2 separate regions of the Homo sapiens genome follow, and region 1 is linked to region 2. The links are contacts of gene promoters, found by promoter capture Hi-C in human tissues and cell types (Jung and others, 2019). All regions are on one chromosome and are shown on one strand. Each heading gives the region's core, a stretch centred on a gene start or on the middle of the fragment in contact. The rest is flanking DNA. Distances are from core to core; before and after follow the strand shown.

Region 1 (4,702 bases), core at 1,368-3,867, 50 kb before region 2:
GGCTCAGGCAAGGCTTCTCTGACTGTCATGTGGGCTGAGACCCCAGGCCCCTGCACCATGGGCTCCTAGGCCACATTGTTTCCCTTACCACCCTGAACTGTATTTGTTTGTTGGATTGTCTGTCTCCCTCACCTGACTGTGGGCTGCAAAGAGGCAGAGACCGTGTCACTCCTGTTACCTGTTAGCCATCCCACACCTAGGCAGAGCCTGGCACATAGCAGGTGTCCTATAAATACTGAATGAACAATGGTATGCACAGGAGCTGGGGAGTTCTCAGGAAGGATGGTTCCCACCCCAACCCGTACGCCAGCCAGTGCTGAGCAGAACCCCGGGCAAGTGAGAAAGGCAGCAAAAAGCAAAGGCCTAAAGTCACGAAGCTTGGCCTGGGTTAAGAAGGTCTCTGATCCTGAGGGGAGAGACCAGCAAGAGTTCCCAGGGCAGGAAGAAGAGTAATGTTAGCTACATATGATGAATGCTATTCCATCCCAAGCCATACTGGCCTCTTCAAACAGATTATTTCATGTAATCCTTGAACCATCTCATAAATTAGGAATTGTTACCCTGTGTTTTATAGATGGGGAAACTGAGACCTCAGGAAACAGCCTGCATAGGTAGCAAATATAGATGCAAACCTAGGTCTATAATTTTTCCAGTAAAATGAAGCTGGTTCAGCACTAACACCATTCTCTCATCATTCATTTATTTTCTTTCTTTCATTCCTCCCTTCCTTCCTTCCTTCCTTCCTTCTTTCCTTCTTTCTTTCTTTCCTTCTTTCCTTCTTTCCTTCTTTCCTTCTTTCTCTTTTCTTTTTGAGATGGAGTCTCACTCTGTCACCCAGGCTGGAGTGCAGTGGTGTGATCTCAGCTCACTGCAACCTCCGCCTCCCGGGTCCAAGCAATTCTCCTGCCTCAGCCTCCCGAGTTTACAGGTGCCTGACACCACACCCAGCTGATTTTTGTATTTTTAGTAGAGAGGGGGTTTCGCCATGTTGGCCAGGCTGGTCTTGAATTCCTGGCCTCAAGAGATCCACCCACCTCGGCCTCCCAAAGTGCTGGAATAACAGGCATGAGCCACCGTGCCCTGCCTCATCACTCGTTTTCATTCCAACCCTGCCCACTTCCAAGACATTAACTGCCAAGGGTACCAGCTTGGAAGCCCAGAGGTGGGACTCTCCTTCCAGCCCTGCCATGAAGCAGCTATGGAGCCTTAAGCATATCACCCTCTGGGCCCTGGTCTCTTCATCTGTACAGTAAGAGCTTGGGGCAGATGGTCTGGAAAAGGTACTTTTCTTCAAATCTGCAAGTTTATCTGGGAAACATATAGCAGCCATACCCCATGACTGCCCCACACTCCTCATTCCCACAATTGAGACTGAAGCTAAACAAAGAACTGGACATCAGCTCCAGTTTGATTCGTTTATTGACAAATCAAATGAAAAAAATTCACTTAAAAGAAGGGTATGTGATCACAAATGTAGCTAACAGGGGGAACGCATACAGCACCAGGGAGGGAGAGTGAGGCTGGACATACCATTACAGAGAGGAGGAAGAGAAAGAATGGCGCGGGGGGCGGAGGAAAGAGAGCACCTGCCAAAAATCCCACACTTTCCACTTCTCAGCTATCACTCAATCATTTTTCTGGACAGGGTTAACAGCTAGAAATGGTTTAAGGGCAACATCCAGGTAGTTTGTCTGGAAGATCAGGGAGATGAAGAGTTGGAGAGAATGTGGGTGTAGCATTTTGAAGGATTCTCCAGCTTGAACCTGTTGCCAGAACCCTTTTCATGGTGAACTGGGAGTCAGGAAGCTTAATCCTGGTCTCAGCTCAGCCATGAACTTGCTGTGTGACTTTGGGTGAATCATTTTCCCTCTGTGATCCTCTTTCCTCTGCTGTAAAACAATCAAGTTGGCAAGTTCTCCACTGGCTCTAGCACTCTGCAATGCCAAGCGTTCTGGCAACCTGGGCTAGACCAGGAGACTGGCTCAGCTTCCGGAGAAATGAAACTACTAAGAAGGCCAGCCAGAGTGACGTGGCACTGGCCTTCACCTGGAGCCCACTTCCTTGGCAGCGGCAGCAATTCAGAGGGTGAGTGTACGCGCACACACCTGGAAGGAACTCACACTCACTGCAAGGGTGATCTCTGCAAAGAATGGCTGTGAGGGAGCCTGGGTTTTGCTCTACACAGAAGGCAGGTCCACAGGACTCGGGGGGTGATACAGATGAAGCAATCACACAATCTGTAGGGTCTGGGATGCAGGATACAGTGGAGGTAGAAGGAGCAGAGGACTGTAGGCTTTGGGATGGGGTTGGGAGGGGTTGGGAGGTAGAGCCATGCCAGCACTTCACCGTGTGCCACTCCTGTTGCAGACGCCCTGCCCCCTTAAAACAGAGGCCGGGGCCCCTGGGTCTAACAGAAGCAGCTCTTCAGATAGAGATGCCACACTTGGCATCAAGATCCTTGATTCCTGTGGGGTCAACACCATCAAAGCAGGGGTCAGGAATTGTCTCCATTGGCTGGAGTCAAATGAGGTAGGCCAACCCATTTCCCCCTTGCCCTTCCCATGCTGACAAGCTGGTGGCTTGTGGCTGGCCATCCTCCCACTCCAAGACACTGCCCTTGAGGCCTGGGAGGATGGCCAGCCCTGCCCTGAGAGCTGTGCAGGCCACACCTGGCTTGAGAAAGCTGACCGTGAGGCTAGGAGGCAGCGGCCTCCCCACAGCCTGCCCAGGCTTATGTCATCTGTGACAGCTCTAAGGGCAAAGGGTCCCCAAAAGAACAGGTTGGAGGGAGGAGCCCACATTTGGGGTTTCTGTATGGGAAAGGACTGTGGTTCCAATTCCAAGGTCAACAGCCACAGTTTCATGGCCAAGATAGATTCTTTCGTGAGTGTGTGTGCACACCACCACACACCTACATGTGAAGGGGAAAGAGGATACTTGGGGAGAAGACACTGAGCCTGGTATAGCCTAGAGGAGCACTCCATTTCCCAGTGTAAAACTGCCAGGGACCCATATCTGACAGCCTTTGGCAAATTCTCCAAGTACCCCAAACTGGGGATGTTTCCATGGGGATGCTGGTCCCTAGTTCAAGGCAATTCAGCAAAGCTTTATGAAGCAAGTTCTCTACAAAAGGCACAACTGAGGGCCCCCAGTGGACTGAGAGCACTGCTGGGACAGGGGGAGGCCTAGCAGCAGAAACCCACGGCCCTGGGGCAGGGGGCACCCCCGCTGCTCCCGCTCACTGCTCCAAGACCTTGAAGGACAGCGGGGTGCCACTCTTGGCAAAGGCCTTCATCAGACTGCTGGGATAGATGCACCCCAGCTTCTCTGGGGTTGGGAAGCCCCATATCCTATAGAGTGACAGGCTCAGCCGGTCCCCGATATAGAAGGGACCCACCCATTTGGCACTGCTGCCATTCCTGGGGAGGGACAGCAAAAGGACCTGGTCACCCACATTCCACTCCTTCTCCTGGCTCTCCCGCTTGAAACGCCTGTTCTCGGCCTTTTCACTCGCCTTGTCAGCCACCCTCCAGTGGAGCTCCAGCAGCTCCCCCACCAGCTGTAGCAGGAAGACGTCCATCTTGAGCCCTTCAATGTTTGCGCTGCTCATCTCCCACCACAGGGGCTCCGTGAGCCTTGACTCACCCCCGGTCAGGACCTTGAACGGTGTGGCATCAGTGGAGGAGGCCCTGAAGGCCAGGTGCAGCAAAGGCAGGGAGGCCGCCCACTTCTTCCCATGCAGGAAGATGAACTCCTTGAGGGCCCTCTTGAATTCCCAGTAGGCCCCTGAGCTCGTCAGGCAGGGGAACTGGAGGTCCCGACTCAGGGAGGCCACCTGGGCTCCCAGGGCCAGCCCACAGCTCACAAGGACGTGCCGGGCAAACTGGGGCCCCTGGGCTGCCTCCAGCCTCACAGGAACACCCCACCTTGCAAACACATGCTGAAGCAGCACCTGGGCCACAGCCGTGTGTGTGTAGGGCTTCAGGGGGAATGCCTCCACCCACCTGGTGTTTGGGTCAGCCACAATAAGTACATGCTTATGGCCCTCCTCACTTATGGTGACCGGGCCCACCACCTCGATCTGCAGGTTCGACCAGGGGGCGGTCGACCTGAGGGGCCATGGGGACTCAATAACCTTCAACTCGCTGCCTATGAGATTTCGGGGGATGCAGAACAAGCAGCTCCTGCAGTAATCTTTCACATGCTCCTGCATCCCAGGCCACCACCCCAGCAAACGCAACTTCTTGTAGGTCTCTTCGGGCCTCTGGTGGGCCCCCAAGGGAATGTCATGCACAGAGAAAATCAGATCCCTCCGGAGTTGCGTCGGGACTACCCAGACCCTGGGCTTCTTATCTCCCTTGAACATAAGCAGGCCACTCTCCTTGTCGAGGCTGAGTGAGTTAAAGGCAGAACTAAACGGTGAGGAGCCAGACAGTTTCTGCCCAGCCTGCAGCCTGGCAATGATGTCGGCCAGGGTGCTGTCACTCAGCTGTAATGCCAGCAAATTGGGCCTCTTGCCCATGGCATGGGGACTCACTGTAGGGGCTGGCACATCCTTTGGCAAACTCCACCACTGCCCACCCCCCTGGGCACCCTGCTTGGCCAGGGTGTCCACTGTCACAGCAAACAGAGAGCCCCGGTAGGAGGTTCGGTAGATAAACGGAAGGGATGAGAGGCCAGAGGTGAGGGATATAATGTAGGA
Region 2 (4,423 bases), core at 1,296-3,795:
CTGCTGAGCTGGTTGCAGATACTCTTTTGAAATTCAGAGGGCATGAAACTAGTGTCTTCAAATCCATCCCTTGACCCTCCTGCTCCCCTACTGGAATGGCTAGAGAGAGCGGTAGTGCCAGGCGCAACCCTCACCTGAAGATAGGGCTGTGTCCCCCAATCCGGGCCTTGGACCAAGCGAGTGGGGAGGGCACTGCCAGGTAGTCCATGCCAGCCACCTCCTTCCGGGAACCTCCTGGAGGAGCCACAGACTCCTCTGCTCCCAAGGGCAGCTTCCCATTGCATGAGGCAGGCTCCTCAGACCGAGGCAGAGCCACTGCCTGCTCGCTGGAAGTCCGCCGTGTCTTCTGAGGGATGCTCTCAGCTGGTGGGGCCCCCACATAGTCAAAGGGACCAGGGGAGCCCGGGTCCCGGGCCAGAGGCAATGGGGGTGGTGGAGGTGGCTCAGACCCCTCTTCCCCCAGGCTGCCACGGCGGGACAGAGCTGGGGAGGCTGAAGATGGGGTTCCCGAGCTGGAATAGCGCCGCTTGCCACATGGAGAGGCAGGCCGCGGGGAGGCTGGGGTGGGCCCAGGAGCACTGAGGAGTAGCCAGCTATCCTCTGGCCCTCGGCCTCCGGGGCTTGGACCATACAGGCTCCAGGGATCTTCGGGGGTCCATGGCCGAGGGGAGGCCCGGGGCGAGGGCAGCGGGGAGCCCAGGCCAAAGCGGGAGGCCGCCTCATTTAGCTCAGACTCCACCTCGTCGCAGGCTGCATACAGGGCTGCCTCGTCAGAGGCATCGGAGAAGAAGCTCCACGAGGACAGGCTGCTGCTGCCAGGGCTTGGGCTGAAGAAGGCCCCCCCACCCTGGCCCCCTGCTTCTCTGTAGCCCCCAAAGCCTTCTGGTGGGGGGTAATCTCTAGGAGAGCCGTCCCCCCAGGCATCAGGGTTGTCCTCCAGCGCTGCTGGCGGCTCCGGCGTGGGAGAGATGGAGGTGATGCGGATGCTGGGACACTCGAGAACACGGCCACCCCCAGCACCCCCAGCACCCCCTCCTGGTCCTCCCAGCCTCACCGACCTGGCGGGCTGGCTCTCCCAGGTGCCAGGTGAGGGGGCTGGTCGCGGCGGTGGCGAATGCATGCCAGGCCGAGGGGGTGGAGGTCGGGGAATACCGATAGGTGCAGCGCCATAGGGAGGGGGCTCTCCCAAGGCCAGACGGCAGCATGGCGGGGCATCCTCTGAGTCCAGTTCTGTCAAAATGGGAAGAGGAGCAGAGGGAGAGGGGGAAAGAGAGAAGCAGGTGAGATGGCTATGTTCCTTGAGTGGCCAGGCCGCAAGTCCTTCTATGCTCCCTGCCCCTCAGCAAAGAGACCTTCTGAGCCACAAGACAAAAGCAGAGTTGGACCTGGGAAGATGGAGGAGATTGAAGCAGGCATGCCAGGCCTTTGCCCACTGGCCCCTGGATCCTAGGACCGAGGGTACCCGATCCAGTGGGTCTTAAGGTGAGAGAGGTGGGTCCAGAGGGGCTGGAGCTGGGGCTGGGCCTGGAGGCGTGTTTCTTGAGGCACTGGGCTGGACTGGGGGCGACTCACACATGAACCCAATTAGCAGCGGTTCCCAAACCCCCAAACGGCGCTGGCAGGAGCCCCAGTTGCCATCGCAACCGTGGCCAGAGGGGAGGGGGGCGTCAGGGCTGTGGTGACGAGGGGAGGTGGCTCCTCCCTCTCTCCTCGCCATCTAGGGGCGGAGGTGCAGCCGAGGGGGTGATGCGTGCTGGGCCCAGCCGGGGGAAGGGGGGCAGCGGGCAGCGCGGATTCGTGCGAGCGGCGGCCGCCGCCCCCGGCTCGGTCCCCGCCATCTGCCTCTCATTGCGGCCAGACGGGGGAGGGGGAGGGGCGCCCCAGCGAGGCCTGACAGCGCCCCCAGCCCCGGGCGTCCAGTCGGCCGGGCCAGAGCTCGGTCCGCCAGGGGCCAGCTCCAGCGCCAAACCTCCCCTTCCCCTGGCGGCGCCTGGTGCTGTTGGGGCCGTAGTTCCCGCCCGCCCCCCAGTTCAGTGACAGGCGGCCCAGCCGGGAGGCGGCGCACAGCCAACAGCACCCCCACCCCCACCCCAGTCACGACCTAAAAAGGAGAAAGTGGTGCCCGGGCCCCCAGCCTCACTTCCGCAGGCCAACGAGTCCCCCCGACTCCCTTCGACCTCTGACTCCCTCACCCCCCACCCTAGGCTCGCTGCCTTAAATTCCCCAGACTCAGGATCCCCGGCCCTCCTCTCACTGACCCCAAGACCCCTTCCCAGCCCAGCACTAACCTTCCCCCAATCCCCCCGCGCCCAGCGGGGGGGCCTCCTTTTCCTCCCCGAACACCAGCTTAAATTCCAGCTCCTCATCCTCGCAGCTGGCCGCCCCCATGGATCCGGCAGGAGCCCCCAGGTCCCGGCCTGGGTGGGAGGGGGGAGTTCAGGAGGCTGCTGTATCTTCACCCGGGTGGCTCCCTCCCTCCCTTTCTCTGAGAAGCCCCCTCCTCCGTCGCTGCCGCCTCCCTCCAGAAGCCCCCTCGTTATTATAGAAACTTTTCCAAACTTTTTTCCCCCAAACTTCTTCAAAGCGGTCCCCCCCCCAGCCTGTCCCTGATTGGCTGCCGGGGATGCTCCAGCCCCTCCTCCAGGGATGAGATGGGAAAACCACGCGCCCCTCGTCCTCCCCCACCCTCCCTCCCTCTGTCCTCTCTTCAGTCCCTCCCCCTCAAAAAAAAAAAAACTGAATTGGAAAACGGTCCTTCAAGAGTGATACTAATGTTGCCTATTGGTCCGCCGTTGTGACAATCATTTCCCGCAGAGAGCCCAGCCCCCACCTCCCCTAGTCTCAGTTCAAGGTTCTGGGTCCGAGAGCCTTAAAGGGGCCACATCCTGGGCCCCCAGGGTAGAGAGCCCACGGAAGACCCTTTTTTAAATTCTGAAGACTGTGTAGATAGCACCTAGCAAGGCAGAACCACTTCTCCTCCCCTTTCCCTCCAAGCCTGAGGCCAGGAGGGTCCTGGGGGCAGAGTGGCACCGAGTTGCTCGGAAGAGGAAAAGGCTATTCTTCCGCCTCCCTTGCCTGGGGCTACTCTGCCCGGGCCTTCTGGAAGTCTTTGCGCTGCCGAATCAGCGCCTCCATCAGCCATTCCTCCAGGACCCCCAAAGATGAAGAACGCTTAGCCAGCCTGGATGCCTCTGGGAGCAGTCCGAGCCAAAGAGGCTTTGAGAACTGTCCCTAGGCCCACAGCCCTTGATGGGCGTAGATCCAGGCCAGGCTTTGCCGCTGCCCTTGTCCCAGCCACCCAGAGGGGCCGTGAATTAGCCTCCACGGGAAGTTGGCAGCCTCCTCCCTAGAACTGTAGTCTGGAATGAATCTCTGACCCGATAGCATCCCACTCCGGCTCTTCTAAAAATCCTTGCCAGGTTTACTAGGGGCCTGAAACCTCCGGACCCTGTGGGTTCCCCTCCTCTTCCCCCTCCTTGGCCCCCCCGCCCCCAACAGGCTGGACACCTGTCACCTGGGCTGGAGGAGGAAGGAAGACCTGGACTGGAGTTTCCGGGAAAGTCAGGCTTGGAGAGGCCTGGGTTGTGTGAGAGGGAGTTAGATGGGAGATTCGTGACTCGGTGGGAGATACTGGCGAGGCTGGCGGGTAGGAGAGATGGGAGGGTGGTTATCATTTTCTCCCACACACACACAGTTTCAACCTCTCTTAGAGGCCGCGTCTCCAGTCTCTAAATCCCTCCGGTTCAGGGCCGCACCCCCAACGCCGCCCCATCCCAGCAACTAAACGGTTAAGCGACGGCCCCAGGTCAGACGTTTACAAACACTCAGAAGCCGGGCGGGGACCGCGCCCGTTACTCTAATGAGAAACAGGCTCTACGGGACTGGGGAAAGAAGGGAGGGCTGGCCCGACGGGCCGGAGCTCCGCAGCGGCCGAGGCGGCTTCCCTCCCTCCCCTCGGTCCTCCCTCGGGCCCGCCCAGGGGACCACCCCCCCAGTCCCCGGGGACCCCAGTGACGTGCGGAGCTGCCCCGGCTCCGAGCCCAGGGCCGCAACACAGGAGGGGCGGGGAGAAGAGCCCAGGCCGGCGGGGAGAGAAGAATGTTCCGAGGCCGAGCGGGGAAGCGGCCTGGTTTGATTTTCTTCTTTCTTTTTTTTTTTTTTCTTTTTTTTTTCTTTTTTTTCCTTTGGTTGGTCTCCTCAGGTTACATTTCCCTTCCAGCTTCATCTCGGAAATAAAGGAAGGAGAAACCCACGGGGAGGGAGGACGAGGAACACCTCGACCCATCAACCAGCCTGTACCTAAGAGGGCAAGGGAGGTGGGAAGCGGAGGCGAGAAAAGCAGGGATAGAGACCCCGAGGCCCAGCCCCTGTTCCCCCAGACTCTGCCCCTCCCCGGCCCCACTCCCCGCAGGCACAGCACATG

What was found. The method cuts DNA at HindIII sites, captures the fragments that hold promoters and counts their contacts. A contact is called where the count stands out against the background at its distance.
Region 1: a contact is called between a fragment that was not itself captured here and the fragment with the promoter of NFATC4 in region 2, in 1 of the 25 tissues and cell types used here (adrenal gland).

What each region holds. Positions count from the first base shown.
Region 1 is chr14:24,415,983-24,420,684 of GRCh38, reverse strand. It overlaps NYNRIN (NYN domain and retroviral integrase containing), which reads right to left. Exons shown (of 9, transcript NM_025081.3): 9 at 1,402-4,702. The coding sequence ends at 3,239. Among named protein-coding and RNA genes, the nearest start is that of CBLN3, 11 kb to the left of the region's middle. The HindIII fragment of the contact is 3,050 bases long and covers 1,093-4,142 here.
Region 2 is chr14:24,366,306-24,370,728 of GRCh38, reverse strand. NFATC4 (nuclear factor of activated T cells 4) reads right to left here and starts at 2,545. Exons shown (of 10, transcript NM_004554.5): 1 at 2,289-2,545; 2 at 135-1,230. The coding sequence starts at 2,388. It overlaps LOC124903291 (a long non-coding RNA gene), which reads left to right and starts at 1,344. Exons shown (of 2, transcript XR_007064085.1): 1 at 1,344-1,482; 2 at 4,202-4,423. RefSeq lists an enhancer at 1-744 and silencers at 1,707-2,086, 3,805-4,114. The HindIII fragment of the contact is 13,574 bases long and covers 865-4,423 here.